3 separate regions of the Homo sapiens genome follow, and regions 1 and 2 are each linked to region 3. Evidence: promoter capture Hi-C in human tissues and cell types (Jung and others, 2019). All regions are on one chromosome and are shown on one strand. The core of a region is centred on a gene start or on the middle of the fragment in contact, and the rest is flanking DNA. Distances in the headings are between cores, read along the strand shown.

Evidence for each region. Contacts are between HindIII fragments. The study calls those that stand out against the background at their distance.
Region 1: a fragment that was not itself captured here is called in contact with the fragment with the promoter of SYCE3 in region 3 in 2 of the 25 tissues and cell types used here (liver and lymphoblastoid cells).
Region 2: a fragment that was not itself captured here is called in contact with the fragment with the promoter of SYCE3 in region 3 in 4 of the 25 tissues and cell types used here (IMR-90 fibroblasts, dorsolateral prefrontal cortex, heart right ventricle and 1 more).

The regions. Positions count from the first base shown.
Region 1 is chr22:50,663,231-50,666,440 of GRCh38, forward strand. No RefSeq gene overlaps it. Among named protein-coding and RNA genes, the nearest start is that of SHANK3, 8.0 kb to the right of the region's middle. The HindIII fragment of the contact is 5,475 bases long and covers 1-3,210 here.
Region 2 is chr22:50,451,071-50,454,530 of GRCh38, forward strand. SBF1 (SET binding factor 1) reads right to left here. Exons shown (of 41, transcript NM_002972.4): 36 at 3,442-3,460. Among named protein-coding and RNA genes, the nearest start is that of SBF1, 22 kb to the right of the region's middle. The HindIII fragment of the contact is 3,854 bases long and covers 1-3,460 here.
Region 3 is chr22:50,561,641-50,565,150 of GRCh38, forward strand. SYCE3 (synaptonemal complex central element protein 3) reads right to left here and starts at 1,279. Exons shown (of 3, transcript NM_001123225.3): 1 at 1,218-1,279. LOC107985568 (a long non-coding RNA gene) reads left to right here and starts at 1,321. Exons shown (of 2, transcript XR_001755606.3): 1 at 1,321-1,927. RefSeq lists a silencer at 971-1,380. The HindIII fragment of the contact is 12,147 bases long and covers 1-3,510 here.

The DNA.
Region 1 (3,210 bases), core at 235-2,734, 100 kb after region 3:
CAGAACTGTGGTTCTAAGAGCTGGGTGGAAAGGAGACTGGAGGACTTATTGTTCAGTGAGTATAGTTTAATACGGGGTGATGAAAATGTCCTGGAGATGGTGGCGAATTCACTTAATGCCACAAAATTGTATACTTAAAAATTGTTAAAATGGTAAATTTTGTTATGTATATTTTACCACAATAAAAACTAAATTTAAAAATCTTAAAAATGGTTCTGAAACAACTGGACATGCTCCCCCCAAAAAAATATGAACAGCTACCTTTTCTTGATACCAAAAACAAAAATTAACTTGAAATTAATGACAGGCCTAAATGTAAATGCTAAAACTACACAGCCTGGGCAACATGGTGAGACCCCCATCTCTTTTTTTTTGAGACGAATTCTCGCTCTGTAGCCCAGGCTGGAGCGCAGTGGCGTGATCTCGGCTCACTGCAACCTCTGCCTCCTGGGTTCAAGTAATCCTCCTGCTGTAACGCAGGCGTGCGCCAACGTGCCCACCTAATTTTTGTATTTTTAGTGGAGACGGGATTTTGCCATGTTAGCCAGGCTGGTCTCCAACTCCTGACCGCAGGTGATCCATGCGCCTTGGCCTCCCAGGAATTACAGGTATGAGCCACCACGCCTGGCCCCCCATCTCTTAAAAAAAAGAAATAAAATAAAACTATAAAACACAGGAAAATATTTTTGTGATCTTGTGGTAGGCAAAGATTTTTTAGAGTGAACCCAAAGAATATGAGAACGATTAAACAAAAAAGATAAATTGAATTCTATAATAATGCAAGACTTTTGTTCTTTGAAAGAGGCTATTACAAAAATGAAACGGCAAGCCAAGAAATTAGAGAACTTTTGCAATACATATATCTTATAAAAACTTGTATCCAGGGCCAGGCGCGGTGGCTCACGCCTGTAATCCCAGCACTTTGGGAGGCCGAGGCGGGCGGATCACGAGGTCAGGAGATCACGACCATCCTGGCTAACACGGCGAAACCCCATCTCTACTAAAAATACAAAAAAATTATCTGGGTGTGGTGGTGGGCCACTGTAGTCCCAACTACTCGGGAGGCTGAGGCAGGAGAATGGCGGGAACTCGTGAGGTGGAGCTTGCAGTGACCTGAGGTCGCGCCACTGCACTCCAGCCCGGGCGACAGGGGGAGACTCCGTCTCAAAACAACAACAACAACAAAAAACTTGTATCCAGATTATATAAGGAGCTCCTAAATTTTAATAACTCAAACCACTCAGTTTTTAAAAATGGCAATAGACTAGAACAGACACTTCACGAAAGAAGCTATGTGAATGGCCAATAAGCCATTCCCCAGCAGCCCGGACGTCCTTCTTGTGGTATGGCCGACTCTCTGGCTTTTGTTGGCTTCTTCATCTCTGATCCCATCTGCGTCATTCCAGTCATAACCCATTTGATGGTTCTAACATGAGGATGGATTTATTATTTAAAAATATACATAGTTCTAGGGCCAGGTGTGGTGACTCATGCCTGTAATCCCAGCAATTTGGGAGGCCGAGGTGGGTGGATCACTTGAGGCCAGGAGTTCGAGACCAGCCTGGCCAATATGGTGAAACCCCATCTCTACTAAAACTACAAAAATTAGCCAGGCATGGTGGTGCATACCTATAGTCCCAGCTACTAGGGAGGCTGAAGTATGATAATTGCTTGAACCTGGGAGGCAGAGGTGGCAGTGAGCCGAGATTGTGCCATTGCACTCCAGCCTGGGCGACAGAATGAAACTCTGTATCAAAAAAAAAAAAAATATATATATATATATATAAAATTTTTAAATCTTTAATTTTATAAGACTAGTCAAGCGCAGCACTGATAAGGGGAAATCAGTAGAACAGGGAATTCATTCTTTTTGTCTCTCCTGTGCTGTACCCTTAAACACGGTTATGATGGTGAACTGCATGTTATGTGCTTTTCACTACAATAAAAATAGGTACATAGATCTTAAATTGTCAGTGGCCTTTGAGAGAGTGGAGAGGTAAACACAGGCAAAACACATCGTCTTGAATGAAAAGATACTCGGAACCCTAAATGTGAAATTAACTAGACAAATATTTCTCACTTTTAATTTCACGTTTTTTTTTCCTTTGAGACAGGGTCTCGCTCTGTCTCCCAGGCTGGAGTGCAGTGGTGTGATCTCGGCTCACTGCAGCCTTGACCACCCAGGCTCAGGCGATCCTCCTGCCTCAGCCTCCCAAGTAGCCGGGACCACAGGCACGCGCCACCACGTCTGGCAAATGTCCGTAATTTTGTAGAGACGGGGCCTCACTTTGTTGCTCAGGTTGTTCTTAAACTTCTGAGCTCAAGTGATCTGCTCACCTTGGCTTCCCAAAGTGCTGGGATTACAGGTGTGAACCACCTTGGCCGGCTAATTCCACATTTCAATGTTAAAACAGTATTTTAAATTTAACACTCTTTCTAAGAATATACAACAAAGATCAGCCATCCCTTTACGCTGCTGTTTTGCTGCTAGATATGGAGAACACACTCATCAGAATACACTCCAAAATCTGAACTAGCTTTGATGATGATAAAATTTAGAGTGTTTACCAGGTACTAGGCATGTGCTAAGCATTTTACACACACGTACCTCATCTAGTCCACACAATGGCCCAGGAGGCTGAGAACTGACCTGTGAGCCTCTGAAGGCAGACACCTTGCATCTCAACCAGGCCTGCCATCTGGCCAGAATGAATGAGGAAATGAAACAGTTTGTACTATAGTCCCCAGCTTAGCTGAGCACACACGGAGACATAGGAAGGCTAGGAAGCTTTCCTAGGCCACCTGGGTATTTGGTGGCTGAGCTGGGCATTTGCTCCAAGTCCAGCTCTTGAACTTCTCTGGGAAATGTATTGTTCCTTGAAACCAAACTGCAGAAGTGCTATCAGATTTCAGGGACTAAAATTAGAAACTCAAACCCCTTCAGAACCTTCCCTGTCTCCCAATCTCTATTTCTTCCAGTGTGACTTTCTTCTCGAGCCTGCTTAGCTTTGGATGTAAGGTGCGTTCAGGATGGTAGGCCCCAGATGCCGGCCGTAGTGTGGTAGTGTGGCTTTCTTCTCAAGGCTACCACTCGGTCACCAGCAGCTCCTGAGTTCACAGTTCTCCTATAGATCCCAAGAGTGGAACCAGTCTCCTCATTTTTTTTTTTTTTTTTTTTGAGACGGAGTCTCGCTCTGTTGCCCAGGCTGG
Region 2 (3,460 bases), core at 340-2,839, 110 kb before region 3:
TGTAATCCCAGCACTTTAGGAGGCCAAGGTGAGAGGACTGCTTGAGCCCAGGAGTTTGAGACCTGCCTGGGTGACATAGGGAGACCCCATCTCTACAAAAAAAAAAAAAAAAAAAAAAAAAAAGTAGCCGGCACGTGGCCCACGCCAGTAGTCTTGGCAACTCAAGAGGCTGAATGAAGCAGGATGATTGTTTGAGCCTGGGAGGTTCGGGCTGCAGTGAGCCATGACTGTGCCACTGCACTCCAGCCTGGGCAACAGAGCAAGACCCTGTCTCAAGAAATTAAAAAAAAATTCATTTGATGGGCTTCAGTATATTAAAAACAAGAAAGAAAAGAGTAGTGAACTTGAAGACAAGCCAACAGAAATCATCCAAAATGAATTGCAAAGATAAAGACTGAGAAAAAACAAACAGAGCTTCAGCAACGTATGGGACAATAAAGTTCCAGAAGGAAAGGGAGAGATCATGCAGAAAAAGTAATTTATAGAAGCAATGGCTTGAAATGTATTAAATTTGACAAAAATGATCATCCCACAGACCCAGAAGTTTAAAGAGCCCCAAGCAGGACGAAAGCAAAAACCACAATGGTCAAATTGCTGAAGCCAAAATTAAATGCAAAATCTTAAGGCAGAGAATCAAAGGGTGCCATTATACACAGTTTATAAGGATAAGAATCAACACCAACTTCTAAGCAGAAACAATACAGGCCAGAAAACAAAGTAATATCTTTTTTTTTTTTTTTTTTGAGGCAGAGTCTCACTCATGTCGCCCAGGCTGCAGTGCAGTGGCGCGATCTCAGCTCAGTGCAGCCTCCACCTCCCGGGTTGAAGCGATTCTCCTGCCTCAGCCTCCTGAGTAGCTGGGATTACAGGCACCCGCCACCATGCTCAGCTCATTTTTATATTTTAGTAGAGACGGGGTTTCACCATATTTGCCAGGCTGGTCTCGAACTCCTGACCTCAGGTTATCCACCTGCCTCAGCCTCCCAAAGTGCTGGGATGACAGGCGTGAGCCGCTGCGCCCAGCCTAGTAATGAGATCTTTTAAAGTGACATCAGTTTAACTGCTGAATTAAAAAAAAAAAAAAAAAAAAGAAGCAGCTGTCAACCTAGAAATGCATATCCAGAGAAAATGCCCTTTGCAAAATAAAGGCACCAAGATGTTTTCAGATAAACAAAAGCTGAGGGGATTTGTGACTGGCAGCTCTGCATTACAAGAAATATTAAAAATTCTTCAGGCTGAAGAGAAATAATAACCAGACCAGATTATACTGAAAGAATGAAGAATGTTATAAATGGCAAAAATAGAAGACTTTTTCCTTCTTTCTTAATTTCCTTAAAACAAAGTTGACTATTTAAAACAAAAACAGGGCCGGGCACGGTGGCTCACGCCTGTAATCCCAGCACTTTGCAAGGCCAAGGCGGGCGGATCACCTGAGGTCAGGAGTTTGAGACTAGCCTGGCCAACACAGTGAAACCCCGTCTCTACTAAAAATACAAAAAAAATTTAGCCGGGCATGATGGTGGGTGCCTCTAATCCCAGCTACTTGGGAGGCTGAGACAGGAGAATCACCTGAACTCAGAGGCAGAGGTTGCAGTGAACCGAGATCGCACCACCGCTCTCCAGCCTGGGTGACTGAGGGAGACTCCATCTCTCAAAAAAAAAAAAAAAAAAAAAAAAAAAACCATACTGGGTGTTTATGTCATACGTAAAAATAAAATGTGTGACAGTAACAGGACAGGAAAGGCATGAATGGACACACACTGCCGTAAGGCTCTTCTGGTGTCAACAGGGTGATGTAATTTCAAGTCAGATGATTATAGCCCCCAGCAACCCCTGAAACACAACACAGAGATGTACAGCTCAACTCACAGTAGACAGAATACTAAAAACACTTGTTTTTTAAAAAAAGAAAAGAAAGAAAGGAAAAAAAATCAAAGGGACAAAGAGAAAACAAAGAGCAAGATGACAGACTTAAACCCAGCCACATCAATAGTAACAGTAAATTAAAATGGGCTAAAAATTCCAATTAAAAAAACCCATTAGACTGGATAACAAGAAGACCCAACTACATCTACATTCTGTGTACAAGAAACTCACCTTAAACATAAACACACAGACCAGTAAAAAATACAAGAAAACAACAGAGCAAGCTGACACTGGTCATGACAAAGCTGAGTGACTCTGTTAGCACCAATGAGACCGCGTCAACTTTAAGACAATGAGCATCGCTAGAGAGAAAAAGGGACTGCTGTCTGTGCTTTGTGGGTCACCTCCATCACAAACCATGACTCCCGTACTCCCCCAAACCCTGTGCCCCATGCTAAGTCACTGAAATAAATGACTCATTTAAGCCTCACAACTTCCCTGTAAGGCAGGAATCAGCATTTCCACTTTCTGCACAAGGAACCAGAAGCTCTAAGATGCTTAGATAACTAGGCCAGGCACGGTGGCTCACGCCTGTAATCCCAGCACTTTGGGAGGCCGAGGCAGGTGGATCACGAGGTCAGGAGATCGAGACCATCCTGGCTAACACGGTAAAACCCCGTCTCCACTAAAAATACAAAAAATTAGCTGGGCGTGGTGGTGGGCACCTGTAGTCCCAGCTACTCGAGAGGCTGAGGCAGGAGAATGGTGTGAACCCGGGAGACGGAGCTTGCAGTGAGCGGAGATCGCGCCACTACACTCCAGCCTGGGCGACAGAGCGAGACTCCATCTCAAAATAAAAAAAAAAAGATAACCTCTAAGGCCACACAGCCAACAGTGGGGAGCTGAGTGCAGGTCCCCCCGTGGCCTAGGTCCAAGGTCCACACTCCTCTGCCTGCTCAGTCCCACAGAGACTCCGGGATGGCCCCAAAAGGTAGCACCACGCGCAGGACACTGCCTCAGGCCTTACACACCAACCCAGCCACCACCCAATCGCAGTCTCCTTTCTCCCTCCCAGGCATCTCTGCCTTGTTCAGTCCAGGCCCACCAGGGATGGCACAGTGAGGGGTAAGAGAGGCCTCAATGTCAACCCCAAGCTCTCAGGGCAAGAACCCAGAGCTGCTCACGTTAGGTGGGGCAGGCGGTCTGGCAGAGGGAGTAAAACACTGTCGTCTCTAAGGGCTGACTCCTCAACAGGTGCCTGAGCTGCTCAAAGCCAGGTCAGGGAAAACACACGTGCTCAGAGTGGAGGCTGTGTACTGAGACCTGAGGGTCTCTGATGACGGCCCTCCTGTCACTGTCTGGAAGCACCCACTGAGTGGTGCGGGGCCCTGGGGAGCCACAGCCACCCCAGGCCAGTAGGCAGTTCACATGGTGGGGAGACGGCAGGGCCACACCAACCCCCAGGGGTAACCGGACTTACGTGCATGTACGAGTGTACACACACACGCACGACCCTGGTGTCTGAGCGAGAGGAGGGGGGTGCCAGGCCAGACCCTGCTCTGGGATCACACGCACCTCCAGCAGGCGTGAGATG
Region 3 (3,510 bases), core at 29-2,528:
TTTGTGGTCTGAGTGTCTTGCCTGGTACGAAGAGTTTCTAACAGAGTCTGGGATCCCTCTGAGAACAAGGAATGTGAGGGGATAAGAGGGATGCTTGGTGCAGAGATGTGCTCTTTTGTACGGGATGAGAGCAGCACAGGAAGGGAATGCACCTGTGATGTGGGAGAGAAGTCTTGGAGTTGGGCTATGAAGAGTCTGGGCGGGTCCTGAAGTGCAGGTGGAGGAAGCCAGAGGTGCGTGTGGGAACTTGGGGTGTGAGGTGGTGTGTGGACTCCGGGGTCCCAGGTGTGGCAGGTGTGAGGGTAAGAGGGGCAGGCTGCACGGAATGAGAAGCCCAGGGTGTGCAGACTTCAGGATCAGGAGTGTATGGTGTGAGGACATGGAGATTAGGTTAAGGGGGTGAAGGACTGAGGTGAGGGATGTAAGGTGGGGAGAGTGGGGTATGGAGTGTGCAGTGAGGGGAGCGGGGGAGGGGTGAGGCGGGGTGAGGCGGGGTGAGGAGGGGTGAGGGGTGAGGCGGGGTGAGGGGTGAGGCGGGGTGAGGGGTGAGGCTGGGTGAGGAGGCGGGTGAACGGTGACGTGAGCGATGAGGGGTGAGGGGCGAGGCGGGTGAGGCGGGGTAAGGAGGGGTGAGGCGGGGTGAGGGGTGAAGGGTGAGGCGGGGTGAGGGGTGAAGGGTGAGGCGGGGTGAGGGGTGAGGGGTGAGGCGGGGTGAGGGGTGAAGGGTGAGGCGGGGTGAGGGGTGAAGGGTGAGGCGGGGTGAGGGGTGAGGCGGGGTGAGGGGTGAGGCGGGGTGAGGGGTGAGGGGTGAGGCGGGGTGAGGAGGGGTGAGGGGTGAGGGGCGAGGCGGGTGAGGCGGGGTGAGGAGGGGTGAGGGGTGAGGCGGGATGAGGGGTGAGGGGTGAGGCGGGATGAGGGGTGAGGGGTGAGGCGGGGTGAGGGGTGAGGCGGGGTGAGGGGTGAGGGGCGAGGCTGGGTGAGGAGGCGGGTGAGCGGTGACGTGAGCGATGAGGGGTGAAGGGTGAGGCGGGGTGAGGGGCGTCGGGGGAGGGGCATGGGGTGTGGAGTGAGTGGAGTCGGGTGAGTGGAGTTGGGTCGAAGTCAAGGGTCTGGCTTGAGGTTGGTGCCACCGCGAACGCTAGGACAGGGTCAGGCGGAGCCCAGCCGTCAGGGCGCGTTGGGAGGGCCGGGGCCCAGGGGGGCGCGGCCTCGCTCACCTCCAGCTTGGCCCGCGCTCCGGTCCTGCTCTGGCGCCCCCAGCGGCCGCTTGAGGAACAAGGCCGCTCCTCGAGAGGGATGCCCCGCCCTTTCCGTTAGCGAACCCTCCCCGGAAGTGACCTCTCGCCCTCATTGGGTGTCCTCGGGAAAAGGGGCGGGGCATTCCGCGCTGCTCCCACAGGTCTGCGGCGTCCGAGTCTGGGACTGGCAGGTGCGGTGCTGGGGACGTCCTGAGGTTGAGGGAGAATCCTGCGGAGATGAAGAGCTTCCCGGCCTGACAGTTTTGCCCCCACCTCCTTCTTGAGCTTAAGGATTTATACGCAGGGCCCCGTTTGCCTGCTGTGTCCCCAGTGTCCAGGACAGCGCCCGGTACCAAAGGTGCTGGTAAACATTTGTCGAATGAGTCGCTGAACGCCCAGCTATTTCCACTGTCACAGCGATCATGTGTGGCGGACATTATGTGGCATGTATCTTACAGAGGAGGCAGCCCGGGCTCAGGGAGACGAGGCAGAGGTGCACGCAGGTCTATGTGGGCTGGAAAGTGCTGGGGCCTCCCGGGCGCTCCTGGTCTCCAGGCAAGAACTGGAAGCAGAGCCACTCAACACCTAGAAGGGCAGTGACAGAAAGCTCTGGCTGGGAGGAGGCTGACCAGAGGCCAGTCTGAGCTCAGCCTTTTTTTTCAGAGGGACGTGGGCACCCTAGAAGGGTGGTAAGTAGGCGAGTGGCAGAGTTAAAAGGTCTCTGGCTGCCGAGGCGGGTGGCGACGGGGCCGGCCGTTGCTGTTGTTTGGCTGAGTGGTGGACAGGGTCAAAGCCATTCCAAGGTCGACTTGACAGGGCTTGGTAATGTGGGAGGGAGGGAGAAAGAAGCAAGGGGCTAATGGCCGGGGTGATACCACTGGCAGAGATGTGGAAGAGTGGGAGAAGCTAGCTTGGAAGGTTAACTTTGATTTTGAACACCTTGTGTTTGAGAATCCTGACAAACCTTAGACCCCCTGAATTTTCTCTCAGGGATTCTGATTCTTAGCAGCCTGATTGCAGAGGAGGAAAAATGGCTGGGGTTGAGCCAGACAGTTCTGGGCAAGGAGTGAGCATTCGCTTGTTTATTGAGGAGGCTGCTGCCTGGGCCACACTCCCTCCGCCAGCTGCCAGGTTCCTGCCCCGGTTGAACCCGGTTTTCTGGCCATCCCTTTCCACCTGTGAGCTGCTCTTCATACTTCCATTTGCTTATACAGCCCAGAGCCGATTTCTGTTACAGCAGCCCAGAGAAACATGAATAGGGAATAATTCTTTTTTTTTTTTTTTGAGACGGAGTCTTGCTCTGTTGCCCAGGCTGGAGTGCAGTGGCACGATCTCGGCTCACTGCAACCTCCGCCTCCCAGGTTCAAGTGATTCTCCTGCCTCAGCCTCCCTAGTAGCTGGGATTACAAGCACATGCCACAACGCCCAGCTAGTTTTTGTATTTTTAGTAGAGACCGGGTTTCGCTATGTTGGCCAGGCTGGTCTCGAACTCCTGTCCTCAGGTGATCCACCCGCCTCGGACTCCCAAAGTGCTGGGATTACAGGTGTGAGCCACTGTGCTTGGCCCGAATCAGGAATAATTCTGATGGCTAAGGAAGACAGCTTCCGAGAGAGTAGGAGAAAGGGCACAGGATTCCAGGCAGAAGGCCCATCTAGGGCAAAGGCGAAGGTGTGGCTCAGCCTGCCTCCTTTGGGGAATGGCGAGTGTGTTCTGGGCTCAGGGTTCTTGGTAAGGGACAGAGAAGACTCGGGAAAGATCAGTTGAGCTGGAATGTGCAGGCTCTTGAGTACCCTGCTCAGGAGCTGGAGGTGGGCTACCCTGCAAACTCCAGGCCATGAAGCCCAGGAAGATGTCAGGCTGGTCTTCCCATGCCCTTGTGTATCTGAGACCAACTGTCACTAAATGTTTCCTTTACGCCCTGGACACACAGCTAGACTCTACTTCTCAGATTCTCTTGAAATACAAGTCTTTAGCCAGAGGGTGTGGAGGGAAATGCTGTGTATCACTTTGAGGTTGAGGCCATCAAAGCCTCCCACAGGTGGCCCCCTCTTTCTCTCCCCACGTACTTATGATGTTGATGCCCAAGGCAGCTTGAGTACTACCTGCTGAAGGCAGGGCCTCTGTCACCATAGATCCTTGAATAACAGTATGGAGCAGAGCCCTCATCTCAGCCAACTGGATTTTATCTGACCAACAGTCCAGCTTCTATTGGGTTGAGCCATGAGGTTTCAGGATTTATGTTATGGCTGCTAGCTTTTATTAATGCAGACC